Linked DNA regions of Homo sapiens: region 2 is linked to region 1. The links are contacts of gene promoters, found by promoter capture Hi-C in blood cells and fetal thymus (Javierre and others, 2016). All regions are on one chromosome and are shown on one strand. Each heading gives the region's core, a stretch centred on a gene start or on the middle of the fragment in contact. The rest is flanking DNA. Distances are from core to core; before and after follow the strand shown.

The links. The method cuts DNA at HindIII sites, captures the fragments that hold promoters and counts their contacts. A CHiCAGO score of 5 or more calls a contact.
Region 2: the fragment with the promoter of BIRC7 here is called in contact with the fragment with the promoter of CHRNA4 in region 1 in 1 of 17 cell types (endothelial precursors); the score reaches 5.1 in endothelial precursors.

The regions. Positions count from the first base shown.
Region 1 is chr20:63,359,063-63,365,075 of GRCh38, reverse strand. It overlaps CHRNA4 (cholinergic receptor nicotinic alpha 4 subunit), which reads left to right and starts at 3,727. Exons shown (of 6, transcript NM_000744.7): 1 at 3,727-3,986; 2 at 5,377-5,528. The coding sequence starts at 3,911. LOC100130587 (a long non-coding RNA gene) reads right to left here and starts at 5,088. Exons shown (of 5, transcript NR_110634.1): 1 at 4,907-5,088; 2 at 3,135-3,258; 3 at 799-861. RefSeq lists an enhancer at 2,986-3,619. The HindIII fragment of the contact is 20,478 bases long and covers 1-5,068 here.
Region 2 is chr20:63,234,642-63,237,982 of GRCh38, reverse strand. It overlaps BIRC7 (baculoviral IAP repeat containing 7), which reads right to left and starts at 2,078. Exons shown (of 7, transcript NM_139317.3): 1 at 1,538-2,078; 2 at 1-80. The coding sequence starts at 1,886. RefSeq lists enhancers at 2,194-2,313, 2,661-3,262. The HindIII fragment of the contact is 21,330 bases long and covers 1-3,341 here.

The DNA of each region.
Region 1 (6,013 bases), core at 2,478-4,977:
CTGTCCATGGGCTGAGCCCACAGCGCGTCCCAGCACTGGGACCTGGGGCTGGATGCCTCCTGCCTCCCACAGCCATCTCCTTGGGTGCGGCTCAGGCTCAGCTGGTGCCCCGCAATGCTCACCTTTACTACAAACCCTCGGTTACCATGGGCAGGTAGACAGCAGTGAGGGAGAGAGAAAAATCACCCCCAGAGCCGTGCTCCCAGGGGAGCTGCTTTGCACCGTAGCCAGTGGCAGCCTGGAGTTGGTGGTGACATGGGGAGGGTGGGGGGCAGGGGCTGGTGTCTGCAAGGGCCTGGTTGTGTCCCCCAGGGTGGGGGGCGGGGGCTGGTGTCTGCAAGGGCCTGGTAGTGTCCCCCAACCTACCCGCAAGCCCCCTAGGGCGGCTCAGGCCACAGAAAAGCTGTGCCCCCAAATCTGGTCTCACTGGACTTTGAATCCAGAGTTTTTGTTTCCTTTGAAGCAGCAATTTCAGGAGCAGCAGAGGCAAGGGCCAGGATGTGGAGTAGGAATCTAATTCAGCCTCGGTGATTACTGGGTTCCCACAACCAGCGCTCTCCAGCGGGCGCAGGTGGGAGGGAGGGGCTGTGCAAATTAATGAGTTAGACCTGATTAATCTTGCTGCATTAGCAAATCCAAAGGGAAAGCCAGTGAGGTTGGACAGATGTGTGTGAGCGTGTGCACTCGGCCGCAGGGCTGTGTCACCAGAGCCCCGGGCGTCCAGCTGACCCGGCCTGGCCCCTGGCTCCGGGAGAGACAGGCCTGCTGGCCCTGGCTGAGCTCTCAGAGTGAACTCACCTGCAGGAATCCACCAGGGAGAGCCGCCGGCTTGAGACCGCTTGACCCTGTGGAAGCCTGGGCCTGTTTTGTTAGAAAAGTGAGGAGGAGACAGAAAAGGCAAAGCTGGCTTAGTCTCAGAGCCTCTGCTAGGCTCCTGCCGAGGCCCACGGCCTCTTCCCCTGCACCAACGGGGGACAAATTCCAGCCCCTGCCCCAGGCCAGGACACCAGGTTCGGGCTGAGCCCTGGCTGCGGTGGGGAACCCTGACCCTCCACATCAGCCCTGGGCCAAGTGGCTCTAAGCTGACATTTCTCCGGGCACTCTGGGGCCGCCTGCATCAGAGCTGCCAGCAATGGCTGGTGGAAGCCACAGATTTGGAGGCCTCACCCCAGACTGAACAGTCTCTGAGGGTGGAGCTCCAGAATCTGGAGTTAAACAAACGCCCCCACGCACGGCTGAGTGGACACCCGTGGCCCTTCAGGGATTCACCCAGCTCACCACACGCCCCCCGCTCTGCTGTGACCCCAGATAATCTCCACAGGAGGCCTCGATTTTAACAAGTCCAGGGGGAAACCATGAGCCCAAGTGCAGGAGCAGGGGTGTCCTCTTCCCAAAGAGGTCTTTGGTTTGCCACGGGAGGGTGAGGCACCCACGAGGGTGTGGAACCCACGAGTGGACATCACTTTATCAGCAGAAGAGCCCCGTTTCGGCCAGCTGCCAAGTCAGAGAAACGATAACCCCGTGTCACAGGGGCTCCAGCAGGGACCGCAGCACGGCTGGCCTCTCCACTCACAAAAGAATGTGGATTTGGCTCTGCCAATGGCATTTGCTCTGCGACACCACAGGCAGGGGCTTCTCACCAAGGTGGGGCCTGAACCAAAGGGCAGAGGCCAGTCTATACCATGCGGGAACCGCTGGCCTTGCCACCTCTCTGTCCCCTTCCTAAGCAGAGAGCCTCATGGGCTGTGCCGCAGGGAGCGGGGGTGGGGTTCTGTGAGTGGGTCAGAGGTCAGAGGTCAGCAGGCTGCCCTCACGGGGCCTCGGGGGACTTTGCTCTTCTCCCCTCCCTGTGTTTACCAGCTGCTTGCTCAGCCCAAATATCCATCCAGCTTGGAACCTTCTAGTTCCTGGCACAGAACTGGCCCATGGAGGGGCTTCATGTAGGCCAGAAGGACCAGGGTCTTGCACTGCCCAGGGGCTTGGGAAGAGCAAGGAGAGGAGGAGGAGGAGAGGGAATCCTTCCTTGGGGGACTTCAGTCTGCCTAGGGAAACAGGCCCTTGAAACCATCGAGGGTTGGATCTGCAGGGTGGTCTGAGGGAGAGCCGTCAGCAGGGTGGGTGGCAGACACCCATGGCTCCAGGAAAGAGTTCAGGAAAGTAGACCTGGGATCTCCCAGGAGGCTGTCCCAGTGAGGGCACGTCAGCCCAAAACTACATCTGAGGCCAGCAGGAGGCCGGGGTGCAGACCCTAAAGCCAGATGGCCTGGGTTGGAATCCCAGTACTGACTGTGAGCTTCGGCAAGTCGCTCGGCCTCTCCGCACCTGTGTTATCTCTTTGGTAACGTAGGGACAATTGAAGAGGCCACCTCAAGGGGGCCGTGGAAGTGCAGGGGGTCCCTGCATCCAGCTTGCTTGGACCAGCATGTGGGAAGGCCACAGAAGCAGGGCAGGTGTTGTCGCTGGACCAGGCAATTCAGGAGGGCAGTGTCGTCGTTGGACCAGCCACTGTGCAGCGGCTGTGTGTTCTGAAAGCTCTAATTGTAGGCACTGCCCACAGAGCGGACAGACAGCTCTGGCCAGTGAGGAAGAGCTCCTGCCCGTCCCAAAGCAGGTGTATGAGGAGCCATGAGCTCAACCTGGAACCAGAGGTGGGCAGGGAGGGGGGAGAGGGGTGGGCAGGAGCAGTGGCTGCTCAGGGAAGCTGGGGGGAGGAGGAGAAGGAAGGTAGGGGGTAGGGACAGGGGAGATGGGAGAGCGATGGGAGGGGCAGGAGCTGTAGGGCTCCAGAGGCCTGTGCTGGAGAGGGGGTTGCTGCAGGGAACTCCTGACGGAGCCCCCTCGCCCGACCAGCAGCCTTGCAGCCTTGGAGGGAGGGGCGTGAATGCGGAGGGTCACCGGACCTCTCCAGCCCCTTCTGCTCTGCCTTCCATTACCGACGACGGAAATCTCCGTTTTCGGGGGCTGTGTCCCAGCTGCAGAGCCTGAGGCTGGGCCAGGGGCGCGGCTACAGGGATGGCCGGGTCTGATGTTTCTGCAGAGCCTCGCCCTCTCCTCCTGCACACGAGATTCAGCCGCACAAGGCGCCCCTCCTCCAACGCACCTGCTGCTCTGTGGGCGGCCACCTCGGCACCCACCTGAGGGCGGGGCCCCTCCCTGGGGACCGTGCGCCTGGGCTCCCCTCTGGACGCCTCTTGGGTCTCTGCGGAGGTACCAGGGAAGGCGGGGGCTGCAGGCGGACAGAGAGTCCTGAACGGCTCGCTGGGGAACAAGACCAGAGACGCGATTTTCAGGCTGCAGACACCGGCTGGCGCGATGGAGTAACCCAGATGTGCTAGGGGTGCCCCTCCTTGCGCCGGATCCCCTAGATGTGCCCCCCACCCCTGCAGGCAGGGAGCGGGCGCCCAGGCTGGAGATGTGGGGAGGGAGGTCAGACTGACTCCGGGACCCCCCAGTCGCACTCAGTGACCCCGGGGTCCCCGTCCCCGGCTCAGGCACGTCTCGAACCCCAGGAGAACAAGGAAACTTTACCCCCGCCCGGGGCCCAGCGCAGCCTCCCCGTCCCCCTGGGCGCGCGGTCCATCCCTGCTCATTCTCCCTGGCCCTTGCTCCCTCCTCCCTTTTCACTCTCCGTTCCCTCCCCCTCCCCTGCTCCCCCTCCTCCCCCCTCCCCTGCTCCCCCTCCCAGCCGGCTGAGGCGGGCAGGGCCGGGCGGGGCCGCGCCACGGAGCCCACAGCCCGGCGCTCCCTGCCGCGCCGCCGCCGCACCGCGCCCCACAGGAGAAGACGAACCGGGCCCGGCGGCCGAAGCGGCCCGCGAGGCGCGGGAGGCATGAAGTTGGGCGCGCACGGGCCTCGAAGCGGCGGGGAGCCGGGAGCCGCCCGCATCTAGAGCCCGCGAGGTGCGTGCGCCATGGAGCTAGGGGGCCCCGGAGCGCCGCGGCTGCTGCCGCCGCTGCTGCTGCTTCTGGGGACCGGCCTCCTGCGCGGTAAGTTACGGGGCGCGGGATGGGCCCCCTTTCGCCCGCGTTCGGATGGCCTGGGACCCCCAGAGCCAGAGGGAGGCAGGCTCCTGACTGCGGTCCCAAGCCGCGGGTGCGCGCGACTGGGCGACCGCGAGGCTCCCCATCCCCAGCCGCACAGGCTGCGCTCGCACCCGGGCTGAGCCAGGCGAGGAGGGAGTTGACCGCCGGCGAATGCGGAGGGCTGGGAAAGGGGCTTTCCGCGGGGTGTGGGGGGTTCCGCTGCTATTTCAGGGCTGGCCCCAAAAGCTCGAACTTGAGCAGAGGTGGGGCCACCTTCGCCCTTCCCCCATCCATCCAGCTAAATTTCCCTGAAGACCCCCATGCCTGCTTCCTCCGGTTTAGGGGATCAGAGGGGTGGCCTCTGCCCTTGGCGGCCGCCACCCACCTTTTCTGCAGGAAGGACAAGGTCGCGGGTGGGGACTCTGGGCTGGGAGTCAAGGCTCCCAGGGGTGTAGAACTGACCCCTCCCCCTCCCCGAGTCCTGTCTGCGCTCTCAGGCCAGCGGGACCCACCAGGGAGGTGGAGGTCTCCCCCTCCGCCCAGACCCGCCCCTTATGGCAGCGCCCAGGACAGGCGGGGAATGCCTCAGATCCTGGGGCCCCGGACCTGGAGCACAGATGGACCTAGGGCTGTGCTCCTCCAGAGCGACTCATCAGGGGCGTTCTGGGTCTGCCCAACAGCACGGGCAGGCTGGGGTGCGGAGGGGGCTGGCACCTCGTTGGGGTCTGCATCTGAAACACTCCTCGGGCATCAGGGGATTGATGAACCAGGGGAGGTTCCGTAGGAAGCGGGCGCTTGTGGGGGCCCGATCCTCCTTCCCCTTCCTCCCTCTTCCTGCCTGGGCTGGCCCCGCTGCCCTGTACTCCCTCCTTTGCTGCTGTTACCCCCGAGTGTCCTCTGACTCGCCAGCTGCTAGAGACACAGCCCTTCCCTGGAAGTCAGTGTGACAGGAGACCCAAAGCAGTCCTCGGCCCATCCGCCGCCTGGTTTTGTGGTGCGGTCAAGGTGCTGGGAAGGCCTCCGTGGGCTGAGGGGCCTGGGAAGCTTCCCCGAGGAAATCACAATTACACCCAGGGGTGGGAGAGAGCCGGAGGCCAAGAGAGGTCAGCGCACGCCACGCCCGGCACACACACACACACACACACACACACACACAGCACACGCCCGGCACACACACACACACAGAGCGCACGCCCGGCACACACACAGGTCCTGGGGTGGGAAGGGCTCATGTGAGGAGCTGAAAGGAAGTGGACGTGCTGGGCAGGGGGCTGGGGCAGCCTGGAGAGCTCCTGGACAGCTCCCGGCTCCTGTCCCGCCTGCACCTGAGCCACTGGCCTGCCTCTCCCCGCAGCCAGCAGCCATGTGGAGACCCGGGCCCACGCCGAGGAGCGGCTCCTGAAGAAACTCTTCTCCGGTTACAACAAGTGGTCCCGACCCGTGGCCAACATCTCGGACGTGGTCCTCGTCCGCTTCGGCCTGTCCATCGCTCAGCTCATTGACGTGGTAGGTGAGGGCGTGGCCATCGTGCACTGTGACTGAGGTCGCCCTGCAAGGAGCACAGGGGTCTGGGTGGGCAGAGGGGACACAGCCATCAACACTCCCCGTGGCTGTGAGTGTCCGGCCCGGGCTGGTACGTCAGAACGACAGCCACCAGCTCTGCCCCGCCTGAGCCCCAGCCAAGGGTTGATTCAGAGCGTCCCAGCCAGGCCCTGCCCTTTCCTCCCCCTTGACGTGGGAACACTCCAAGTGGCCAGGTTCTCAGTACAGAGCCCAGGCACCTTCGGAAGCAAAGAACAGCAAAGGCCTTGCTTGGGGGTGGCGGGGCACGCTGTGACCTCGGAGCAACAGGGACAACCGGCCGGGGCAGGGGCCGGGGCAGGAGCAGGCACTGTGGTGTCCCGGCAGCACCCCAACCTTAGCTGGCCCCAGAGGCCCCTCACCCACAGATCTGGAATGTGGGGTTTGGGGGAGTCTTGGGCGAAGTCTGT
Region 2 (3,341 bases), core at 829-3,328, 130 kb after region 1:
CTCCGTCCAGGGGTCGTCCCCGCGCTTCCAGCTCTGCAGGCCCCCATAGCAGAAGAAGCACCTCACCTTGTCCTGATGGCCTGGGGTGCGGAGAGATGCTGGCCCCAGCCAAGTCCCACCCAGTCCCCGGGCCCCCGGTGTGTCCTTCCAAGGCTATGAGAGCTTCAGCTGGAGGGGAGCTCCCAGGTGGCAAGAAGGAGGAGGGGGTGGGCAGGGGGCTTGGTGGGGGATGTCACTTGTACCTCATTAGCATCAAAGGTGAAAAGGGGACAAGGGTGACTGGGGTGCCGGCCAGGATGGGCGAGAATGTTCAGGAAAGGACTGAGCTGGCATTTGCATTGTTCCCAGAGTGAGCAGTGGGGGCCCCCCAGGGCTTGGTACATCTATAGCCCTGGGGCTTCAGGAGCCAGAAGGGCCCCTCCCCAGGTCTCTGCTTCCCCAAGATGGATTCCCAGTGAGAAGAAGAAGGGAGGCTGCCCTAGAAGGCCAGTCTGGGGCCAGGCTTGCTTTTAGGAACTCATGCCTCCCTTTGGGGGTGGGGGACCCGTCATCTCTCTACCTCCTGGCGACCCCGTCCCCTCATCGGCATCCATGCGATACGTCACCTGCCACTGACATCACAGGTTTGGGCTGCATCGGGCACTGGACCTCTACCAGCCCCAAAGACCCCGGCTCTGCACCTGCCATGCCTCTTGCCTGGCCTTTGCCTCCTGAGCCTTGGACTTCCAGGGAGGTGGGTGAGCTGGGCCTGCCCCTTCACGCCACGGCTTCTGACTGTCCCAGCCACTGTCCCCCCGACCAGCTGTCTTAAGTTGGTCCAGCCTTACCAGGATGGTGCCCCGCCAGAGCCCACTGCTGACAATGACCATGGCTGTGCCAGTATTTGTAAAGCCCTCGGTGGGCCCTGCTGCCCTGTCCTTCAGCCAGGAAGTGGCAGAGCTGGGACCTGAACTCAGGTCTGACCACATGGTCTGCAGCTGTAGGGCAGAGGAGCAGGCCCGGGCCAAGACTAGGATAGGTACTCCGGGGACTTGATTCAGTTGGGGAAGACCAGACAGTAGCTGCAGGTTGGGGCCTGGAGAAATTCCCCACAGGCTGAGCATCCAGGACCTTCTGGCTGACCACTGCCTGCCTTGGTCACCCTGATCCTGTTCTTTAAACATCTCCTCTCCCTGTGCAGAACAGCAGCGGGGAAGGTGAGGGCCCCAGGCAATGTCAGCCCCACCCACTTCTATCACAAAGGGGTACTTGTGCACCAAGCTGGCGGCCTCCACAGCTGAGACCCTCAGACTGTGGCCAGAGGCAGCCCCTCCTCACATCCCACGGTCTGAAACACTCAGCCAGCAGAGACTCCGGGGGAGGGTGTCAGGCACGAGCCCATGGGCACTGGAGGGGCTTGCAGGACCACTGCTCCGTCATCAGGCCAGACCCTTCCTGTTGGGGGATGGATGCTACGGAGGAGGCAGAGCCCTGGGCTGGAAGGGTCCAGAATCGTGCCCAGGCCCACGGCAGGAAGGCCCCCCCGCCCGGGACTGACCTGTGTGGAAGAAGCCGGCAGCAGCCAGCAGCTCGGGTGGCACCTCAGCAGTCAGCGGCCAGTCATAGAAGGAGGCCAGACGCAACTCCTCAGAGCCCATGCCGGGGAAGGCAGGCCCCCTGGACAAGGTGGCCCCGGCGCCCTCCTCCTCTTCCTCCTCTGTCAGGGGCCGCAGCTGGCCCAGGATCTGCCCATCCACGTGGTCCCAGGCTCTGCAGGTGTCCAGGCCTAGGACAGGGCTGCCCAGAGAGCGGGGTCCACAGCGCTCCTGCGTGGGACCATCACCGGCTGCCCAGTGGCTCGGCTGTGGTCCACGGTGCAGGCACTTGGCACTGTCTTTAGGTCCCATGGAGGGAACACTGGCTCTGACCAGGTTTGCAGCAGAAATGGGGGCTGATGGCCAATCTCAGAATATGCCCAGCTGGCCCTTCTGGAGCTCCTGACCCCCGGGGCCCACCCTGGGGACAGCAGGGATAGGCACAGGCCTGCCACCAGACACCCTGGGAGGGGAGTATCCCAGGGCCCACAGCTTTCTGGAAGTGGCCAGGGTGGCCTCTGGGGTCACATGCTCTGTGCAGCGGGGGCGTGTCACGGGGCCCCTGGCAGGGTTGCGGATGCCGCTGACTGCACGTGGGCAGGCCACGTCTCTCTGAACAAGACGGGAAGGAACTGAGCATGGAGACCCCTCCCCAGGCTGGTGTCTGCCCCAGGGCTGTGGGGGAGGGGTTGGGGAGCTGGAGATGATGGCTCCAAGGTCAGGCGCCCAGGGCAGCCTCCGGAAGCAGAGAAGGCTCAAGGAAGGACATGTGAGCTGTGCTGCCTGTGCAGGCAGGGGCCGTGACCTCCCACCTTGCGGGGGTGACTCTAGCCTCACAGGGGCCTAGGGCTGCGTCACGCAGAGCAGGGAGGCAGGTCACCCGGCTGTTCTCTGAAACATCCCTCTGCCCCAAGGGGCCTCTGCAGGTCTGGGAGCAGCTCTTGTCCTCAGGCCAGGAAGATCAGAGCAAAAAGAAGGGCCCGAGCTGCCCTCACCTCCCGCTCCCCCTTCCCCCATCTCCCTCCACCTCCCTCCATACCAGCCTCCCCAGGTAGCCAAGGGAGAGGCTCTGATGCCCCCAAAAGAGGAGTACTCAGTGTTGGCACTGGAATCGGAGTTCCTGAGGTCTGCTGTGACCCTGGCTGCCGGTCCAAGCTCCACACTGTGCCACACTGCCAAACCCCACAGTGAGGGAACAGGGAGGAGGACTTAACCCCAGAGAAGCCAGGGGCAGAACAGGAACCCCAGGGACACCTGGGCGGGACAAAAAGGACAGCTGGATGGGGCCCAGACTTCGACACCCCCCAACCCCCGACTGAGCCCTCAACCCCAGCAAACCCAGCTCATCCACCCGGCTGGCCCTAAAAGCCCCCTGTCATCCTTCAGCCACTCTCCCCTGCTGTTCCGTCCTGGATGGGAGCGTGCAGGCTCACAGAGTTTGGAAGAATAAAGAGGAGTCGCACGCTGCAGGGCCGCTGGTTGCCACGGGGAGCGCAGGTGGGCAGGAGAGGGTTAGCTGCAGTGAAAACCGTCCCTGAGCTCACCTGGAAGCCTGGCCCGTTCTCTTCCCACTGCTGAGCCGCATAGACCCAGCTGCTGCCCACCACACTTTCACACCTGCCCCCCGACCCCCACTCACGGCGGGGGCTGGGGCTGCACCCGCCCTCCCAGGAGGCCTCTGGTGACTGTTCTGGTCATACTCAGGCCAGTGTTGCCAGGCCCCAGCGAGACCCCCAACCCTTTCCTATGCAAGGCCCAGAGCCACCT